Linked DNA regions of Homo sapiens: regions 1, 2, 3 and 4 are each linked to region 5. The links are contacts of gene promoters, found by promoter capture Hi-C in blood cells and fetal thymus (Javierre and others, 2016). All regions are on one chromosome and are shown on one strand. The core of a region is centred on a gene start or on the middle of the fragment in contact, and the rest is flanking DNA. Distances in the headings are between cores, read along the strand shown. Region 1 overlaps LINC02964 (long intergenic non-protein coding RNA 2964). Region 2 overlaps LINC02964 (long intergenic non-protein coding RNA 2964). Region 3 overlaps LINC02964 (long intergenic non-protein coding RNA 2964). Region 4 overlaps TATDN1 (TatD DNase domain containing 1). Region 5 holds the start of NSMCE2 (NSE2 SUMO ligase component of SMC5/6 complex).

Region 1 (2,700 bases), core at 143-2,642, 510 kb after region 5:
AATGTGTGGTTCTGGAATGGATGAATGAATGTATGATGCAGGATTCACTTCTTTCTGGGGAGAGATCGCTGGGGTTTAAGTCTTGGCTCTACCCTTACTAAATGAGTGACCTGGACAAATTATTTAACCTCTCTGGGACTCAGTTTCTACATCTGTGAAATGGAGACAAAAATCGTGCTTATCTCATTGCTTATTGTTAAAATTAATATATTGCCCATAAAGTGCTTAGCACAATATCTTGTCTTGTGCTGTCTGATATGGTGGCCACTAGTCACAGGTGACTATTTAAAATAACCAAAATGAACTAAAATTAAAATTGAGATTCTTCCATTGCACCAGCTGCATTTCAAGTTCTCAGTGGCTTCTAAATTGGACAGCACAGATATAGAACGTTTCCATCATCACAGATAATTCTCCTAGACAGAGCTGGTGGAGAATATTGTAAGGGCTCTGTGATGCTAGCCATTTCTCGTTACAATTACTCCTGCTGTTATTGTCGCTGTCTCTCAACTCAAGGTGGAGGGTGATACTAGGTCACTACAGCAGGAGATTTGCCCTTGTGGCAGCCCAGGCTGAAAGTCCATACCCTGCATTTGCTTTCTTCTTAGAATGCTGTCCTGCCGATCTTCACTTGCTGACATCCTCCTTGTGCCAATGCCTGGTAGGACAGGCTTTAAGAAGCTTTTCAGAGGGAGAGCCCAACATAAGAGCCTTCTTCTCCATGAGTCTAGCCTCCCTTTGAGAGCTGGAACTGGATTTCCTTCATCCCTGCCTCCCCAGTGCCTGGCACTGGGTAAGCACTCAGAATAAATTTGTTGGGGAATGAAGGAGCTGTGTCTGAAAGTTTGCATGGGTCTAAGACAGTGTGTTCACTCAGCTCCATGACTGCATCAAAGCATTTCTAATACCAGATGACTTACAGTGTGGAAGAAAGAGCAGCTAGGAAACAGGTCTGTATCCGTGGCCAGGAGGCATGAGCCTCAGAAATGTTGGCAGGATGAGCAGCCTTAGAGAATGATGGCAGCGCCCCGGGGAAATGACAGGAAGCACAAGTTGAGTGGCCCAGGGAAGGCGAATGGGCATCAGAGAATTAAGAAGAACTGTCTTGTGCATGGGAGACTCTCCAAGACCTCTTGGATCGGAAAGGAAGAGCTGAGGTTTCAGTATATCTTGGCAGGGGTGGGCAAGCCACAGACCTCCCTTAGTTTCTGTTATGTGTCCCCGCTGCACTGATAGGGCCTGAGGAAATGAAAGTTAACCAGTAACAAATATTTTTGGGTCTGTCACTTTAAAGAGTCTTCAGTTGGCTTCCCTTATCATTGGAGATTATTTCTTTTGTGAGTGTGTTTTCTTTGCATATTCTTTGCATATGTATTGTTTCAAGGAGAAATGGTAGCTTCCTGGGTGTTGACATCTGAGGCAAAGTTTTAGATTTAACTTGAGGTCATCTTAGTCGACTCAGGCTGCCATAATAAAATACCACGGACTGGGGTCTTAAACAGCAGACATTTATTATCTCGCTGTTCTGGAGGCTCGGAGGTCCAAGATCAAGGTGTCAGCAGATTTGGCTCCTGGTGAGAGCTCTCTTCCTGGCTTGTGGATGGCTGCCTTCTTGCTGTGTCCTCACCTGGTGGAGTGAGAGATTTTTTGTCTCTTTCTCTTCTTCTAAGGGCACCAATCCCATCACTGAGACTGTAGCCTCAGGACCTCCTCTAAACCTAATTACTCCCCACAGGCCTCACCTCCTAATATCATCATGTTGGAGGTTAGGGCTTCAGCAGATAAATTTGGGGGGCACAGGGTTCATACTGTTGATGAAAAAAGCCAAACTCTGAAATACTTGAAGAAGTTTATTCTGAGCCAAGTGTGAGGACCATGGCCCGTGACACAGCCTCAGAAGGTCCTGAGAACATGTGCCCAAGATGTTTGGGTTATACTTTGACTTTATACATTTTAGGGAGACAGAAGCTACAGGGAAAACATAAATCAATACGTGTGAGTTATATGTTAGCTTGGCCAAGAAAGGCAGGTCATCTTGAAGTGGGTGCTTTCAGGTCACAGGCGGATTCAAAGATTTCCTGATTGGCAATTGGTTGAAAGTGTTAAGCTTTGCCTAAAGAGTTTGAGTCAGCAGAAGAAATGCTTGGGGTTAAGATAACGGGGGTTGTGGAGGCCAGGTTTCTTCTTATGTAGACGAAGCCTCCAGGTAGCAGACTTCAGAGAGAACAGATGGTAAATGTCTTTTATCAGACCTTAAAAGCTGTCAGACTTTTAGTTAAATCTCTCCTGGATCAGGAAAAGACTTAGAAAGGGAAGAAGATTCTCTGCAGAATGTAAATTTTCCCCACAACGGGTGGCTTTGCAGGGTCATTTCAAAATATGTCCAAGAAATATATTTGGAGGTAAAATACTTTCATTTCCTTTAGGGACTGTTATCTGTCACGTGATGTTATATCAGAGTCTCAGGCTTCCCCGACCCACTTCTCTTTGACACCGGCAGAAATCTAATATCTGTATCAGGGTCCACATAGACCAATGGCATCCAGCCCTGATGTCAGGCCATCTTTAGCCTCCACTGATCACCTGCCCACATTCTGCACATCAGCCTCACTCAACTTTCTGTTTTTCTTGCAGCCCAGGCTGTTTGGCACCTCTGGGACTTTGCACGTGCTCTTTCCACTTCCTGGTTCATTCTCCCCC
Region 2 (2,700 bases), core at 1-2,500, 530 kb after region 5:
GAGAGTTTCTAAACAGCCCAGGTAAGTCATTTAACTTTTGGTACCTCATTCTTTTTTTTTTTTAAATCAGCAGAAGGGAGACAAAGGACTTAATTTCTGAGGTTAAGGTAAGAATTATAAGTGAATGATGTATATAAAGCTTTAGAACTGTGGATGACACCTAGTAAGTGGTCATTAAATGTTAGTTATTATTATCATTATTACTACTATTCTGGAATACAGGAGGATTTCAGCAAGTAGTTAACCATGAGAACTCTAAGGGTAGGCACACTTAGTTATTTCTGCATCTTCTGCACATGCCAGTTTGTGAGCTGGTAGCTTTCAATAGATGCCTTTCAGATGACTTGAGTGGTTCAATAAATCAGTATGAGAGAAATATCCCTTTTCTCTAGGAAGCTCAATGCACTGGTTTCGCTTATTCTTGAGGTTCTAGACACAAGATCCTGGCCTGGGTGGGAAGACCCCCATGCTATTGGGCCAACTCTCTAACTTCATGTGTATCCTCTGTGAGTTCCTCTCGGGTAAAGAACATTTGACCCCTGTTTAGAAAGATTGCCTTTCACAATCTCCCAGTTCTCTAGATGGGACTTGCTGAGCTGACAGAATGTACAGAGAAGAACTAACTATTTTTAGGGTGAACTAGAAAGATTAGAACTTTGTTCTCTTCTCAAATAGCAAACCTCCAACCTGTGAAAATCCAGAGAGGAGTTATTGAAGAGTCGGAGGTAGGGAGGTGTTTGTTGCACTCTTTATTATTATTATTATTGTTTTTTGAGGTGGAGTCTCGCTCTGTCACCCAGGCTGGAGTGCAGTGACACGATCTCGGCTCACTGCAAGCTCCATCTCCTGGATCCACGCCATTCTCCTGCCTCGGCCTCCCCAGTAGCTGGGACTACAGGCGCCCGCCACCACGCCCGTCTCATTTTTTGATTTTTAGTAGAGACAGGGTTTCACCATGTTAGCCAGGATGGTGTCGATCTCCTGACCTCGTGATCCGCCTGCCTCGGCCTTCCAAAGTGCTGGGACTACAGGCGTCAGCCACTGCGTTCAGCCTATTATTATTTTTTTGAGACGGAGTCCCACTCTGTTGCCCGGGCTGGAGTGCAGTGGCACGACCTTGGCTCACTGAAACCTCCACTGTCCTGGGTTCAAGAGATTCTCCTGCCTTAGCCAACTGAGTAGCTGGGATTACAGGCACCTGCCACTGCACCCAGGTAATTTTTGTATTTTTAGTAGAGACAGGGTTTCACCATGTTGGCCAGGCTGGTCTTGAACTCCGGACCTCGTGATCCATCCTTCTTGGCCTCCCAAAGTGCTGGGATTACAGGCATGAGCCACCACGCCCGGCCTGTTGCACTCTTACTGCTTAAAATTCTCGCATAAAAATAATAACAGATTCCTGGTGATGGAGTGTCTTCTCTGTGTCAGGCCCTAGGTGCATGCTTTACACATACATTATTGTTCCATGCTTACAGCAACTTCATGAGATTGGTTTAATTCTTCTCTTTTGCAGATAAGAAAATCGAGGCATGGAAACAATGCTGTCCACAGCCACACCGAGGGGGCAAAGTAGAGCTGGAATTCCAACACTGGTCTGTCCAGCTTCAAGACCCAACCTCTCTATGAGGATGAAAACCTAATGAAACAAATCAAAACAGATGAAACAACCTCAGCCTACAGGCTAAAGAATGCGCTCACTCACTCAAGTCATAGTGAAGATGTGGAACACATCATTTTGCTGGTACAGAGGCAGATTCACAGATGAGAATGTCAGGGATTCTGTCTCAGAGGCGCTCGTGTCCTTACAAGGGAGGTGTAAGGACTACCTTGTTTTTCATCTGCCCATCTTCTTCATTTCATATTGGGATTTCCCCTTCCCAGTTCACATGCCAACTGGAAGGTTTGCGAGTCCAAATCCCAGCACTCATCTGGCAAAGGGGTGAATGTTTGACTCATATTGGAAAATTAGACTATAGGAAAGTAAATGATGACCCCCTAATCTGAAAATGGCTAGAGCGGATTAATCCAGCTAGCAGCACTCTGAAGATAGCTGCCCATTTGTTCCTGCCATCTGGCTGTTCAGCTTTCCTTCTTTCTGAGAGCTTCCTTGTGGCAGCTACTGTAGGTTGGTTCACTCAGCGCCCATTCCATTTCCCGTCAAGCCGTGCTTTCTCTGCTCTAGAACGTGGAAGACTCAAAGCTCGCTTTCCCAGACTTCCTTGCAGCTAGGAGTGGCCATGATACTTGACCAGCGAGATGCAAGTGTAAGTCTGCTGGGGCTGTCTATCCCCTTTCTCCTTCTTCCTACTGGAATGTGGACCTGATGGTTGTAGCTGTGGCATATACCTTATGAGCATGAGGGAAAGCTTAAGAGAATTGCGGGCACCAGCCTGACACTGCTTAGTGACGTCAGGCAGGCACAAACTTCCCTTTGGGCTCCTTGCTGAAGAACTCCATAGTGGTTTCTGTTACTTGTGGCCAAATTTACCTCTTCACTGATACATGATCTGCACATTTTCTTTGCACTTTTATAAACAGGGTGTATGCTTGAGGTAGGCAGAGTTTCTGTTTGCAACTAAGAAACCTTAATTGATATAAGGAAAGGAAAATAATATTATGATGATACAAAGCAAACCATAACACCATCCAGAATAAAATATGTTCTGGCAGGAGGACGGTCGCAATACAAGTTCATGTAGA
Region 3 (2,700 bases), core at 59-2,558, 550 kb after region 5:
GGAGCAAATTGAGACCAAGAAAGGAACTTACTTCAAGTCACAAAGTTAGTGATGGCATATTTGAAGCTGTATCCCTCCTGACTCCTAGTTCAGTACCCCTTCTCCTCACTCTCCCTTTCATCTTTCTTTCTTCTTCTTCTTCCTCCTTCCCTTCTCCTCCTCCCCCACCTTCCTTCCTCCTCCTCCTCTTCTCTCTCATTTATTCACTCAGCAAACATTAATTGGGCGCTTAATAGATCTTGAGCATATTCCTCTTTGTGGGATATAAATATGGATAGCTAACATTTTCTTTTCATGTTATTGCCTGGATTAATTGACACCTCCAATGTACTTCATAATTACAACTAAGATGCATTGAGTGTGACTGTGTGCCAGGCACCATGCTAAGGCTTTATCTCAGTTACCCTCACAGATGAGGACACTAAGGCTTAGGGAGGTCTAGGAACATGCCCAGTATGGCTCAATTAGTTGTAAAGCTGGGATTAAAACCCAGATCCTTCTGACTCCAGGGCCAGAGATCTTAACTGTTATGTTATATTTACTCTTTAAAGTATCTAAGGTTAATTCAAGAAGTATCCATACTCTAAAAGAATTTTGCTCCTATTTAAAATAACGACTTTTTTTTTTTTTTTTTTTTTTTTTTTTTTTTTTGAGACAGAGTCTTGCTCTGTCGCCCAGGCTGGAGTGCAGTGGATCTTGGCTCAACCTCTGCCTCCTGGGTTCAAGCGATTCTCCTGCCTCAGCCTCCCGAGTAGCTGGGATTATAGCATGTGCCACCACACCTGGCTAATTTTTGTATTTTTAGTAGAGACAGGGTTTCACCATGTTGCCCAGGCTGCTCTTGAACTCCCGACCTCCGGTGATCCTCCCACCTCAGCCTCCCAAGTGCTGGGATTACAGGCGTGAGCCACTGTGCCCGGCCTAAAATAACTACTTATTTCTTGTCTTAGAGTGGTGCTGATTCTCTTGTCCAATTAATTGCTTCTTAAATCCCTAGGAGTTTATGTTAAGGTTTATCTAGGTACCAGGCACTGTGCTACGTGCCAGGGACACTGCCAGTGACTATAGGTCAGTTAGGAGTCCATGGCCTTGCAGGTGTCAGTTGTGATACAAGGCAAGCCACAGAACACACCCTGATGGAAGCACCGTACAACTCCAGGGAGCCCAGTCACAATACAGCTGGTGGAAATGGCACCTCCTGACTTGTGCAGTGCACTGACTGTGCGACTGTATATGGTGTACCTGATCAAATAGGATGGGAGCATGGGTCAGGGGCAAGGAGGCAAGGGATAAGAACAAACTCTTCTGCCTCTGCAGGGCAGGGAGGCTTTACAGCAAAGGGCACTGGAGTGTGAATGCTGCCAAAGCTGTAAAAACCTTAATTTCCTGTTCTCTTCACCTGGGAGATAGTTGTCAAGGTTTGAGGAAATACGTCTCTGTGTTTTGACCTGCAAGGCAGGAAATGTATTTGTTTCCATTTCTTGCATTAGCTACTAAGTTGCATTTCTTTTACATTCCCAGGTATCTTACTCTCATTCTCATTTTTGGGTAGATGGGTAGTTTCTCTTTCTAGTGTAGTTGGTTCATGAAATTAGAGCTTAACAACTGTAGGAGGGTGTCCAAAACCAGAAGATCAAGCGTGGGCAACCTTGCAGCCATTTAGGGAATTCTCTGCCAGAACCAGAGGGAAATTGACGGCAGCCCAGAGAGGGGAGCGCCCATCTCGTGACCATCTCTGCCATTGAAGATGGCACCATGTGGAGGTGTTTCCTCAGTACATGCTCAGCTCTCTTGGTTCTTCCTAAATATCCTCATTAACCAAGAAGACTGCTTTTGCATGTGTGAAAATTTTACCTTCTTTAACTTACAGCAGAAAACAAAAGGGATTGTTTTCATTTCCCAAATATAAAATTATCGTATAATGACTATTACCATTCCCCATAACGCAGCCTGAAGATGGTAATTCAGACCTTTCTGGGCAGGGTGTGGTACTGAGTGACAATCTCAGGATTGGATTGTGTCAGTCACTAGAAGGATGCCGAGGGCACAAAGATGTAAAGAGCAAAACCAACACCAGCAACAATAATGAGAAAACAGCAATGAGAGACCTCTTCCAGGCCTCCAGGAGCTCCAGGCCCCTTCGTTGCTGCCTTTGCAACCACAGACTGCCCTTTTGAGACAACCACTGTGGGAAAGGATGTGGGGATGGAGAAGTACCCTGTCACCAGTTGGATGGCAAGGTGCTCTGCCCCTTCATGTCAGAGCAGGGGAAACCTTGGCCAGCAAGGTGGAGGGAGGAGAGATGGGGCAGATCATTCTCTCTTCTGGTCTGCCCTAGGAGAAAGATGCTGATCAGCCTTTTGATTTCTTTTTTCTTTCTTTCTTTCTTTCTTTCTTTCTTTCTTTCTTTCTTTCTTTCTTTCTTTCTTTCTTTCTTTCTTTCTTTCTTCTTTCTCTCTCTCTCTCTCTCTTTCTTTTCTTTTTTTCTTTCTTTCTTTCTTTTTTTTTTTTTTGAGACCGAGTCTCGCTGTCTCCCAAGCTGGAGTGCAGTGGCGCGATCTCGACTCACTGCAAGCTCTGCCTCCCGGGTTCACGCCATTCTCCTGCCTCAGCCTCCTGAGTAGCTGGGACTACAGGCGCCCGCCACCACGCCTGGCTAATTTTTTGTATTTTTAGTAGAGACGGGGTTTCACTGTGTTA
Region 4 (2,700 bases), core at 4-2,503, 580 kb before region 5:
GTTTTTTATGTGCTGTTATAAAAGAAGTTATTGCCACTGGGCAAAATGAACAAGGTTTCCCTCAAAAATGAAATCTAAGTATTTGCTAAACAGCAAATAACTCAATTATGCTATTAAAAAAAGAAAATTACATGATAAAGTGGTAGCCCTGAATATCTTAAAGAGTACTTGATAAGAAGGTTTTTCCAAGTACCAGATACCATTGTCTCATTTGATCCTCAAAATAACCTGAGTATAAAAGCTGGTGTCAGAGAGGTGTAGTACTTTGTCCAAGATAACAATACCTGGCATGGCCAACTTGGAACAGAACTTCACTGCTCTAATTCCAAGTCCCAGCCTAAACGACAAAAACCTGTTACGTTTTCAAGAAGCTTCCTTCTGGTCCCGGAGTATAATGACAATATTCAGAGGATACAACGAATGTTCATTCTGTTTGTCTTTTCACTTCAACACAGTGCTCCCCCTTGTTCTCACAAATGGTAGGTTCAACTGAATCAGGATAACAGGTGGCTTATTATTTTCTTAAATGTGCTTACCTCTTCTAAGCACTTTAATTTGGGGAAACAATTTCTCTGTTTAACTTAAGCCTCTCTTGCTATATTTTTCTATATCATATTTCCTGATGTGCAGGACTATTTTACCCCCTTTGCTCTCTTGAAAATGCTAAATTTTAAAATTAGAAATAGAAATGTACTTCTTAAGAAGCAGTCTTCAGGCCGGGCGTGGTGGCTCACACCTGTAATGCCAGCACTTTGGGAGGCCAAGGCGGGTGGATCACTCAAGGGCAGGAGTTCAAGACCAGCCTGGCCAGCATGGTGAAACCTCGTCTCTACTAAATATACAAAAATTAGCCGGCATGTTGGCACATGCCTGTAATCCCAGCTATTCGGCAGGCATGAGAATCTCTTGAACCCAGGGTCAGAGGTTGCAGTGAGCTGAGATTGTACCACTGCACTCCAGCCTGGGTGAGAGAGCAACATTCTGTCTCAAAAAAAAAAAAAAAAATTAAAAATTAAAAAAATAGAAATAGTCTTCCTAAAATAGGTCGTCTATGTCTGTATTACCAAATGTTTGGGTTTTAAAATCTCCTTTTCAGATTCTGCTGGGTTAGAATAAGCAAAAATATTTTCCTTTCATTAACAAAGTGCTGAAATTTTGCAGTGTAGGAAATATTAACGACAACTTGGACAAAAAGAGATTTTGATAATATAACCAGTCACTATTTCCATAACCTCTAAAGTAAACCAAATGTCAGCAGTTAAGTGTGCACTAGTCATTATGTCAACTTTACTAATATATTTGGCTCTGACTACACACAGCAGGCGGTACTCTTCATTGTGTGCACTGCTCCACGCTGTACTGGTTATTTTTTCCACACACAATTCCATGGACCAAACCACATGACCAAGCTACAAATTCACAGTATCTAATGGTCGGATGGAAAATTAGCTTCCTATAGGAATGTAGGCAAAAGTACAGTTTATGAAAATAACAGAGGCCAGCTGGGTGTGTGGTTCAGGCCTGTAATCCCAGCACTTTGGGAGGCTGAGGTGGGTGGATTGCTTGAGCTCAGGAGTTCGAGACCAACCTGGGCAACATGGTGAAACCCCATCTCTACAAAAAATACAAGAATTAGCCAGGTGTGGTAGCATATGCCTACAGTCTCAGTTCTTGGGAGGCTGAGGTGGGAGGATTGCTTGAGCCTGGCGAGGTCAAGGCTGCGGTGAGCCATGATCACACCACTGCACTCCAGCTTGGATGACAGAGTGAGACCCTGTCTCAAAGAAAAAAGAAAAAGAAAATAACAGAAGCCCAAGCAATGGGCCCACAGAATTTTACATAATTCAAGAAAAGAAAGGTCCCTGAAGTCATGCTAGCTACGTATCATAAAGAAGCCATGTGGTAAAAAAAATTATTCCTAATGATACAAATTGAGGATAACTAGTACTGAACATCAAACGACTATTATCTTTAGAGAAGAAAAACCCGCCATGGTAACTAGAAATAACTGTATAAGTTACAGGGTAGGAATTGGCATCTATTAAGAGACTTCTCTGCCTGTTTTACTCACTTATTATTTTTTTAAAGTTCATAAATGAAAATAATTTTCCACTTGAGTTATTTGCTCATCTTAGTGAAGCTTCTGATTTTATTACTGCTTCTTACAGTTGAGGTTTAACTATCTAACGACAAGAGCTGGAAAAGTTCAGCTTCAGGAGCAGTTGTTATTAATTAGGATCAAGGCAAATCCAAAAAGCCCAGTGAGTTTCATGGGTATACCTCAACACAAGTAGTAATCCCTCCTCTGTAAGCTGCTTGATGGCAACATGGCCTCAATTGCTCATCTCTAGGGTCCCCTAAATCCCCAAAGGATTGTTTTAAAATCTTCTTGTTGTAGTTTTTAAGACCTGCACAGTGTTAACATTTTAAAGCCCCAAGAAAAATGCCCAAAGCAAATTCCTCCTACCCAAGAGAACAGAGCTCTAAATTGCAACAAGGAAAGGAGTGTAGCATAAGGCCAGGAAATTGAAAATACAGGGTATGGCTTAAAGGATAAACTTTCCATAAGTAGATCAGGCCTTTCCTTGTTTTCACTCTTTGCTTCTCTTTCTTAGTCTTTAAAAAATACTTTTTCCAGAAAAGGTCTAGGTACTAAAACAAGAAAAAAGTATTAAAAAAAAAAACTTTTAAAAGTTCCAA
Region 5 (2,700 bases), core at 170-2,669:
TTCTCTTGGTGCTAGGGATCAAGAACACTTGAAGATCAGTTTTCTCAATACAGGCTATATTATTATTGGCATGAAATCCAGAGATCCCACTATATTTTCTTATTTTCTTTTACAAGTGCCGGTAACTTCATTTTTAATAATTTGGCGTGGAACTGTGATTTTCAGTTTGGGAAGTAATCCTAATCAAAAGACATGCTTTCAAGAATAAGGCATGACATCCTTACACCAATTACCCTGAGTACAGAATAATATTTCTTAAGGAAATCGAATTGTCGTGGACAAACAGTTTACCCTCTTCAGAGGACAAAAGAAGGCAGGTCTATTTTTAGCCTTTCGCAAAACCTCAGTTCCATAAAGGAAGCACTGGTCTCCACAAATCCATTATCACAAACAAAATATAACGGTTGCTGATCAAGATAAATGCAAGCTGCATATATTTTCCAGAAAAGTTCTGAAATGAGGCTGAACCTGAAATCCTGGGAAAGGCAGGTGAAGGACAATTAGAGAAGGTGTCCCTTGTAGTGCACAAAGACAGTAAAACTTCGCCCTCACTACGCCTCACCTATGTTTGAGGGAGCTCCATGCGCTTGCAATCAGGAGACCCAGTTTTATGGCTCTGTGACTTTTTTTCTTTCTCCTGTCCGATCATAATCCTGATTCCGATCCCAGGAATCAGGGCCCTGGGAACTTTTTTTTTTTCCCCCAAATGCAAAGGATTTTGACATCAGTATGTCACAGGTGAAGGCATTAAGGCGCGGCGAGCAGCAATGACTTGCCCAAACTCACAGCCCATGGCATAACTAGAATGCAAATCCACGTCTGTCAGCCTGTAAAAGTCCTCACTACTAGCCTTTCAGTTTTCTCAAAAGCAAAGAGAAATAACGACGACATCCATACAGCAGTGTTCCCGGAAACTTGGAAGGATGAGATTCGGACCAAGCAGCTGAACGGTGCTTCCTAAAGCGAGGAAGGGGTGTGCAAAATGATTTCCCCCTAAGCGGAGACGAAGAGCTGGATTACAGCCCCCGCCCCAGAAAGCCCCTAAGCCCTCCATCCCGAGTCCCCCATCCAGGCTGCACGCGACTCTGCAGACCTCCCCGTGGCCAGCGCGGCCCAGCGGGGAGGGGAAGGGGGCCATGCAAAAATGGGGCGCGCTCACTCCATCCCCACTCACCTGTCAGCCGGGCCGCGCCACGGCGCACGCGCAGGGCCGGAGGTCGCGCGCGGAGCCGGCACCCAGTTTCCACCCCTCCCTCAAGGCGGCGGTCCTCTTCTATCCGCAGTCCCGGACCTGGAGCGGGTCAGACCCCGACTTCCGCCCCTGACTCCCCAGGCGGTCACATGACCGAAGCGGCTGGGAGCAGGGAGGGGCATCATGTGACCACTCGCCGGCGACGGCTGATGACGCAAGAGCCCGCTCTCACTTTTCAGCGGCAGGCGAAGGGGGCTGAGGAAAGGAGGTGGGTCTAGGCAGGGGAAATTGGGGTGCCACCAGACGGAGACAGCTTGGACTACCAGGTAGGGAAGAAGCGGGGGACGGCAATGGGGAGGGTGGCAGGAGTTTCGCCACCCTCAGGGACACTCCACGGGGACTCCGAGCCGGGGGTCCGTCTACCCGGATTATGGTTGTGGAACTTTTCACGCCACGGTAGTGAGTCTGGGACAGTTTACCCTCCTGTCCGAGACGCCATCTCTCCATCCTTTCGCCTCAAGTGTGTAGGGGCAAGATTACGAATTTTTGATCCAAATAGATTTTGTTTGAACTGACTTTAAAAGTAAGGCCACGGGAAGGTCGTTTGAATAAACTCTCTGGACCTCAATTTCCTCTTCAGTTATGTAGATTGCAGTGAGAATTAGCGATAAGGAGAATAAAGTGCCGGGACACCAGTTTATGGCATTCTGTAGGTGACCGAGAAATGATGATGTCTGTTGTTATTTTTGTAACTGGCCAAATCTTTATTGGTCCCCTATTTTGTGTGAGGAATTGCTTTATATGCAATAGAATATGTCAGGGTTCTAGTTTAAGGAGGTGTCAGTTTAAAGAAGCTGCAGACATGTGAGCAAATAGTTGTGATGAGTTTCATAATAGGAGTGTGTTGTGTACATGTGCATGTGATAGGGATAATGGTAGCATGAGGGAGGGAAAAGCAATTGTATGAGAAGGATTCAGAGAGAAGGGATTATCCTTGCATGTTGAAAAAGGAGAGGCAGCTCTGGCTGACTTGTACAAGGCTCCCATGGATTTAAAGGAAGTCAACATATTGTCTATAAATAACATGCAGAGAAAAAACTCAGGAAATGCACAACTTGTTCTAAACTTTCTTGGAGATCATAGGTACCGGGAAGAAAAAGATCAGTGTTATTACCTGGGGAGGGATCCAAGAGAGATTGATTTAAACCAGTTATTCTCAACTGATGCACTATTGACATTTTAGGCCAGATAATTTTTTGCTGTGGGGTCAGGGTGAGGGCTGTCCTGTGTTTTGTAGGATGCTTAAGAGCATCCCTGGCCTCTGCCCGCTAGATGCCAACCACAAAGTCTACAGATACTGCTAAATGTCCCCTTGCGAGAGGGGTAAAATCCTTCTTGGTTGAGAACCACTTAAACCAAGCCATGAAAGATGGTATCTTAGTCAATGTGGGCTTCTGTAACGGAAATGCCATAAACTAGGTAGCTTATGAACAACAGAAATTTATTTC

The links. The method cuts DNA at HindIII sites, captures the fragments that hold promoters and counts their contacts. A CHiCAGO score of 5 or more calls a contact.
Region 1: a contact is called between a fragment that was not itself captured here and the fragment with the promoter of NSMCE2 in region 5, in 4 of 17 cell types (neutrophils, naive B cells, M1 macrophages and 1 more). The highest score is 12.1, in neutrophils.
Region 2: a contact is called between a fragment that was not itself captured here and the fragment with the promoter of NSMCE2 in region 5, in 7 of 17 cell types (neutrophils, total B cells, M0 macrophages and 4 more). The highest score is 13.2, in neutrophils.
Region 3: a fragment that was not itself captured here is called in contact with the fragment with the promoter of NSMCE2 in region 5 in 12 of 17 cell types (neutrophils, monocytes, M0 macrophages and 9 more); the score reaches 27.5 in neutrophils.
Region 4: a fragment that was not itself captured here is called in contact with the fragment with the promoter of NSMCE2 in region 5 in 4 of 17 cell types (naive B cells, erythroblasts, total B cells and 1 more); the score reaches 6.6 in naive B cells.

What each region holds. Positions count from the first base shown.
Region 1 is chr8:125,603,683-125,606,382 of GRCh38, forward strand. All of the region lies in intron 2 of LINC02964 (long intergenic non-protein coding RNA 2964), which reads left to right. Among named protein-coding and RNA genes, the nearest start is that of LINC02964, 85 kb to the left of the region's middle. RefSeq lists enhancers at 1,364-1,543, 2,416-2,465. The HindIII fragment of the contact is 1,426 bases long and covers 680-2,105 here.
Region 2 is chr8:125,621,311-125,624,010 of GRCh38, forward strand. LINC02964 (long intergenic non-protein coding RNA 2964) reads left to right here. Exons shown (of 7, transcript XR_001746072.2): 5 at 1,514-2,264. Among named protein-coding and RNA genes, the nearest start is that of LINC02964, 100 kb to the left of the region's middle. The HindIII fragment of the contact is 2,227 bases long and covers 138-2,364 here.
Region 3 is chr8:125,644,852-125,647,551 of GRCh38, forward strand. The region is part of intron 5 of LINC02964 (long intergenic non-protein coding RNA 2964); the gene reads left to right. Among named protein-coding and RNA genes, the nearest start is that of LINC02964, 130 kb to the left of the region's middle. The HindIII fragment of the contact is 7,706 bases long and covers 1-2,700 here.
Region 4 is chr8:124,509,043-124,511,742 of GRCh38, forward strand. The region is part of intron 6 of TATDN1 (TatD DNase domain containing 1); the gene reads right to left. Among named protein-coding and RNA genes, the nearest start is that of MIR6844, 1.8 kb to the left of the region's middle. The HindIII fragment of the contact is 1,769 bases long and covers 370-2,138 here.
Region 5 is chr8:125,090,441-125,093,140 of GRCh38, forward strand. NSMCE2 (NSE2 SUMO ligase component of SMC5/6 complex) reads left to right here and starts at 1,420. Exons shown (of 8, transcript NM_173685.4): 1 at 1,420-1,518. WASHC5 (WASH complex subunit 5) reads right to left here and starts at 1,352. Exons shown (of 29, transcript NM_014846.4): 1 at 1,175-1,352. RefSeq lists a silencer at 1,072-1,241 and an enhancer at 1,292-1,511. The HindIII fragment of the contact is 6,790 bases long and covers 1-2,700 here.